Linked DNA regions of Homo sapiens: region 1 is linked to region 2. Evidence: promoter capture Hi-C in 16 types of primary human blood cells and fetal thymus (Javierre and others, 2016). All regions are on one chromosome and are shown on one strand. Each heading gives the region's core, a stretch centred on a gene start or on the middle of the fragment in contact. The rest is flanking DNA. Distances are from core to core; before and after follow the strand shown. Region 1 overlaps LOC124901854 (small nucleolar RNA U13). Region 2 holds the start of SRRM3 (serine/arginine repetitive matrix 3).

Region 1 (3,346 bases), core at 294-2,793, 87 kb after region 2:
GTGGCCAAGTCCTGTGCATGTATCTCCGGTATCTTTAGTGTCCAACATGAAGTCTGCACATACTGTATATGAAAGAGATGTTTTTTAAACTGAATGTCCCTAGAGAAGCCCTTTTGGCCTTTGGCTGCAAGTTAATGTCCTTTCAAATAAGTAAATAAACACTCTTTACACCTGAACTAACCTAACTAACTTCAGATCAGTAATCATATAAATTTCTTGGGGCAGTTCCTCTGACGTTGTGAAGAATGTGGTAGTATAAAATAGCCTTTGTACTCAATTTATCAAAACTGCTTAAAAACTTTAAATTCATGTTATTCCCACCAACTAAACTTTCTAGATGGTATCCTAAGGGCCTATGCAATATAAGAATTCATTCTTACCTGTTTAAAAACTGCCCAGGCAGCCTTGCCATAAACGGATAATTGTTCCTACTGCATCCCACAGTATTTGCTTTCTAAAATTTCTGAGATCCAGAAGAGTGATCCGCTCTTGCCCACATCTTTTCCCACATCATTTCTGTTTTCTCCAATCCCTGTACATGCCGGCGGTGAGCAGCCTTTTCAGCATATGGGTCAACTCCAGAAAAATCTTTTCCGAACTGCATTAAATTGTTTTTTTTTTTTTTTGAGACGGAGTCTCGCTCTGTTGCCCAGGCTGGAGTGCAGTGGCACAATCTCGGCTCACTGCAAGCTCCGCCTCCCAGGTTCACGCCATTGTCCTGCCTCAGCCTCCCGAGTAGCTGGGACTACAGGCACCCGCTACCATGCCCGGCTAATTTTTTTGTATTTTTAGTAGAGGCGGGGTTTCACCATCTTAGCCAGGATGGTCTCGATCTCCTGACTTCGTGATCCGCCCGCCTCGGCCACCCAAAGTGCTGCGATTACAGGCGTGAGCCACCGTGCCCGGCCTGCCTTAAAATTTTTAAGCCATTTTATCTTTATCGAGAAACACTTTATCTACACTTAGATGTTTTTTGTTTTTAGAATTTAAATTTCAGCACCTAATAATTTTCATACCCACTGCAGTATTTCCATGTAATGCTGTACTGTGCAACACATCTCTCTTTCTTTCCTTTCCTTCCTTCCTTTCTTTTTTTGAAGCAGGGTGTTACTCTGTCTCCTAGACTGGAGCCCAGTGGCACAGTCACAGCTCACCACAGGCTTGACCTCCCAGACTCAAGTGATCCTCCTGCCTTAGTCTCCTGAGTAGCTGGGACTATAGGCACACACCACCATGTCTGGCTGAGTTTTTTAGTTTTTGTAGAGACGGGATCTCCCTGTGTTGCCCAGGCTAGTCTTGAACTCCTGAATTACAAGTGATCCTCCCAACTTGGCCTCCCAAAGAGCTGAGATTACAGGTGTGAGCCACTGCACCCAGTGCTATTCAGCAAATATTGTTGTTTGCTAATACTTTTCTGAAGCTTGTTTATTTTGCTCTGTTTTCTTTCTTGCTATTCTTAGTAGCTATTTAATGTTAAAACATGTATACTCTTGTAGTACCTGTATAGGTCCTTTAAACAAGATATTTCCATTGCAAATGAGATAGGCAGCCATGTCATTAACACAAAATCCTTTTATGTTGAACATACGATTGTCACCAGCTACTTTTCTGTTCTTACAAATCATAGCAAGAATTTAAATTGATGAACCAAATTAATAAAGCTTAATTTTTAAATTTTTAAATTTTGAAACCGAATATGTACAACATAACTTGAATAATAATAATAATAATTATTATTAAAATGGGCTGGAGTGCCCATTTTTTGGGTTTCTCAATTCAGTTATTTTTATTTTTTTAATTTTTATTAATCCCTTAATACTCCCTTCAGGGCAATCAATTCAGTTTCTACAACAAGACATCTTAGTAGTCATTCTGATAAGCTCTTTTTTCTCAGGAAGCAGTTAAGCACAACGTAACACCTTTTGCTTGTTTCATTGTTCTTTTTCTAGCCAGTCCTTCTGTAAAAATCTGATACTGAGCTGGGCACGGTGGCTCATGCCTGTAATCCCAGCACTTTGGGAGGCCAAGGTGGGTGGATCGCCTGAGGTCAGGAGTTCGAGACCAGCCTTGCCAGCATTGTGAAACCCTGTCTCTACTAAAAATACAAAAAATTAGCTGGGCGTGGTAGTGGGCGCCTGTCATCCCAGCTACTAGGGAGGCTGAGGCAGGAGAATCACTTGAACCTGGGAGGCGAAGGTTGCAGGTAGCCGAGATCGCGCCATTGCACCTCCAGCCTTGGCAACAGGAGCAAAAAAACTCTGTCTCAAAGAAAAAAAAAAAGTGATACTGATTATATATTATGTACTTAAAGCCTTGTACCTGCATGAGGACAAAAAATATACAGTTTAAGACATGACTATATCTTCATTTCCATGATCTTTCCCACAATAAGTAGAAAGATAAGTGTCCTTCTATATTTTAAAATGACTCCATTGTTCTAAAGTGTATATTTATGCAAGGAGTAATTTGCCCTGCTGTGTAATTACTGTAAGAACAGAAGTATGTATCCAAAACAAAGCAACCTTAACCAGCAAATAGGCTTTAATTATTGTGAGAACCTCAGCGGGGGTAGCAACCCAGGACCTAATTTTAAAACTAGAAGCAGTGAGGATGAGAAGTGAGGCAGTGGAAATAGCTCTGAGCTCTCAGAATCTGTAAGTCATAAGGAAAAAAATAGATAAAAGATGTATTTGATAATTATGCTGAAGGAATAAAAATAATTTAAAACATTTCATAGAAGCATATAGTGATGGGCGAGGGGAAACTTAAATCATCATCCCGGGGCAGCCACGGCGGCTCCATGCGTGAGGCTGGTGCCACGCGGTCTCCCGGTGTTGGCATTGTCTCCAGGCCTTCTCCTCAGTTCTGCACACAGCTACAAAACAAAAGAACAGTTGCCAGCACTTGGAAGAGGATGTGGATCCAAACCAAATGGAGGACAGATACTCCCTCTATGGACAAGATACTCATGGAAGAAGTCAAGTTAGAAGAGCAGCTGAAGGAGGCTGTGGAAGAAGATAAGCAAGCACTGGCAGATACTGAGGGCTCAGAGCAGAGCAGCCAAAAATTGGTGGAGGAGGGAAATATGTATAGCATTCAGGGCTTCTGCAAGGACTCGTTAGAGGTTGCAGATGTTTTGGAGAAGGCAACACAGTGTGTTCCAGAAGAAGAAATTAAAGACAATAACCCTCACCTGAAGAACCTCTCTCTGTGAGACTCACAATGAGTGAAGTCCAGATTCAGGAAGTGTTCAGCAAGCACTGCCAAGATGAACTCTGTCACAGCAAGTTCCACCCTTATGAGCGTGAGGGTCTTTTTTTGTCTTTGTTCACATCCGACAGGCAAT
Region 2 (3,337 bases), core at 838-3,337:
CCGCTGGCCGGTTCAAGGCACATTCTACCTCTAAGTATCCCAGTGACCTTGTGGGAGTCACCTCCTTACTGCACTGTATGCCCTCACCCACCTGCCTCAGGCTCCCCACCTGTAAAGCTGGCATCATAAATCAAGACACTGGCATTGAACTGGGCCTTGATACTCAGAGGATGGGACAGGTCATCAGTAACTCTCCTGCCTCCAGGAGGACAGCGCGAGTGGCTTCATGACCTTGGGAAAGTCACTCAAGCTTCATTTCTCAGCTATGAAATAGGGACAATGATGCCTTCCTCATGAAGCTTCTGTGAGGATTAGCTGAGTCAACCGTTGCATTGTGCCCAGCATGGAGCTGGGCATGAGGCTCTCAACCACTGTTCATCTCCTCTGGGAACAGAAAAATGTGCTTCAAATATCACTGAACACTATTCCACATTTATCCAGCTCTTCTTTAAGAAATTCTTACTTGTCTCCTATTTACTAACACTCACCCAGCATTTTATACCGTAAAAGTAGTCTCCCATCTCCTTATCCAGATTATTTCTTTCAACAGCAAAGTAGACATTGCTAACACTACACCTGTTTTACAGATTGAAAACAGACTCAGAAAGGTCAATGGCTTACCTGAGGTCACATAACCTAGATTTGATCCCATGTCTTTCTGACATCAGAGTCCATGACTCCCAACCCACATACCCCTACCTCTTAAAACCCAGTTGACTCTTTAGTCAGTCTTCAAGAATACCTCCTCCACCCCACAGGAGAGTGGGATGGGGCATAAAGTTAAGGAACCAGAAAGCTACTGCTGTGTGGGAACAATTTCCTAGCCAGCTGGGTCCTATTTTTGACTGAGGAAGAAGCTGGCACAAACTGGGGCCATGACCTTAAGATGCTCCCTGGACAGAGGAACTTGTGCACGTCTCTCCGTCAAAGCCCAGCACCTGCCTTTTCTCTTGCCATGGGACAAAAGACCAGCTCAAGCCCCCGATGCTAGGGTGAGTGAGGTCTTAGGACAGCGAGAAGTTATGGCTGGGATAGGGCACAGGCATTGAAGTACCACGTCAGACCTTGGTACAACCTTCCCTTCCTCCCACTAAATCTCTCCCCACAATGGATCTGCTGTCAGGAGTAGGAACTGCAGGAGGCTTCAACACTGTCCAGGCAGGAGCCCTGGGAGGGAGGGGGAGGCGGAGGCAAGGCAGAGGCTGCGTCTTTTCTCAGCTCTCTTCTTTACCAGGAATTCACTCTGGCGCAGGTCTAACTCTGGGCTAGAAACTCTCTCTGGGCGTCCGTGGTTGGGGTGGGGGGTGTGCACAGAGAACCCCCTCCCAAATTCCTAGTAGCTATTTTCTCTTCTGTGTCCTCCATCCTCTTCCCAGTGCAAGAGTAAATGCCATCCTGTGAGACCCAGTTCTCCTTGCCAGCTCCTGCCTCCCTAGGGGCATTTGGGTAGCCGGGAAAGGGGCCAGGCTGTCCCCTGGGCCGGCACCTCCTGCTGGACAGAGGCCCAGCATCCAGGTGGGGGCCTGCTCCCTTCACCAGGGCCAGTGACCAGCATCTCCACAGGGTTACTGCATCGGTCCTCCCTTCCCTGGGGAGCAGGTCCTTCTCCTCAGTGGGACTGCGGTTGGGGGGCCTCCCTGGCACCCTCATGGACTAGGCCATGGTCATTTATGCCCAGGGGAGTCCTGCCCATGACCCCAAAGGTCTCCACTGTCTCCATCCCTCTCAGTGAAATGAATGTTCCTCATCTCTGCTCCCCGGGCGCCTGGCACCCCCGGACAGACGCCCTCGCCGACCTCCCACACTGCCCCTCTGCTCGGGGGAGCCTGCAGACCACGGGGGTGCTGGGGAGGCCCGAGCTTCCACCCAGCCCCAGCCCCTCGGGGATATGCCCCCGCCCCACAGGCGCTCTCACCTCACCGCTGACCGCCGCGATCTACCGGGCGCTGGGGCCAGGCCCTCGGGTCCCGCCGGTCCGGGCTGCCGCCTAGTCTGGGCTGAGTTGGGCAGGGCAGCTCCGCGGCCCCCACGGCCCCGCACCCTCTGCCTCCCCGCGGGTGCTGCCGCCGCTTGCTGAAATGCTGGACAGCGCACCGCCACCGAGGCGCCTCTCTGCTCGCCCGCCAGCCAGAGCGGCCCAGCCCCGCGCCCGCAGCGCCCTCCGCAGGCCTGGAGGAACGCCCGCAGCGGAGGCAACAGCCCGGGCGGCTGGGCCGGGCCGTCTCCCGGCCGGCTCCCCCTCCTCCCCGCCCCCTTCGCCCCCCTCCCCCCCTTCCCCTCGCCCCTCACCTCCCCACACCCCCGCCCCTATCCCCAGCCCCCGGGGACATCTGTTTCCCCCACTTGCGAGAGGAGGCATGTCAGCCCTGGAAGGCGCCTGGGGCAAGGGAGGTTATTAGTTTGGATCTGGGAAATGCAGTCGGTGTGCAGAGGCCTCGCCAGGACACTCTCTTCCCACCCAGTGTTAAAGAAGGCACCAGGGGCTGGGCGCGGTGGCTCACGCCTATAATCCCAGCACTTTGGGAGACTGAGGCGGGAGGATCACTTGAGGCCAGGAATTCGAGACCAGCCTGGCCAACATGGTGAAACCCAGTCTCTACTAAAAATACAAAAATTAGCCAGGCGTGGTCGCAGGCACCTGTAATCCCAACTACTCAGCTACTTGGGAGGCTGAGGCAGGAGAATCGCTTGAATCTGGGAGGCGGAGTTGCAGTGAGCCAAGATCGCACCATTGCACTCCAGACTGGGCGACAAGAGCAAGACTTAGGGTCAAAAATAAAATAAAATAAAATAAAATAAAAGGCACCAGGGAGGTGAGGTGGGAGGATCGCTGGAGCCCAGGAATTTGAGGCTGCAGTGACCTATGGTGGCGCCACTGCACTCCAGCCTGAATGACAGAGGCTGTCATTTTTTGACACCATCTCAAAAATTTAAAAAAAAAAAAAGGAGGGTGTAGTGTGAGAGACATCCTAATGGAGACAGGAGATTTTAAATTATTTTTTTAAATTTTAAAATTTTGGCTGGATGCAGTGGCTCACATCTGTAATCCTAACATTTTAGGAGGCTGAGGTGGGAAATCACTGAGCTCAGGAGTTTGAGACCAGCCAGGCCAACATGAGGAAACCCTGTCTCTATGAAAAATACAAAAATTTGCCAGATGTGGTGGCATGCATGCACCTGTGGTCCCAGCTACTTGGGAGGCTGAAGTGGGAGGAAGGCTTGAGCCTGAGAAGCGAAGGTTGCAGTGAACCAAGATTGCTCCATTGCACTCCATCCTAGGTGACAGAGCCTCAATTTGTCTCAAAAACAAAAACAAAACAAAAAAACAAAAACAACA

What was found. The method cuts DNA at HindIII sites, captures the fragments that hold promoters and counts their contacts. A CHiCAGO score of 5 or more calls a contact.
Region 1: a fragment that was not itself captured here is called in contact with the fragment with the promoter of SRRM3 in region 2 in 2 of 17 cell types (M1 macrophages and megakaryocytes); the score reaches 8.2 in M1 macrophages.

Annotation. Positions count from the first base shown.
Region 1 is chr7:76,112,882-76,116,227 of GRCh38, reverse strand. It overlaps LOC124901854 (small nucleolar RNA U13), which reads right to left; the gene lies at 3,332-3,346. It also overlaps the pseudogene GRPEL1P3. Among named protein-coding and RNA genes, the nearest start is that of MDH2, 66 kb to the right of the region's middle. The HindIII fragment of the contact is 241 bases long and covers 1,423-1,663 here.
Region 2 is chr7:76,200,646-76,203,982 of GRCh38, reverse strand. It overlaps SRRM3 (serine/arginine repetitive matrix 3), which reads right to left and starts at 2,087. Exons shown (of 15, transcript NM_001110199.3): 1 at 1,916-2,087. RefSeq lists a silencer at 2,001-2,240. The HindIII fragment of the contact is 9,812 bases long and covers 302-3,337 here.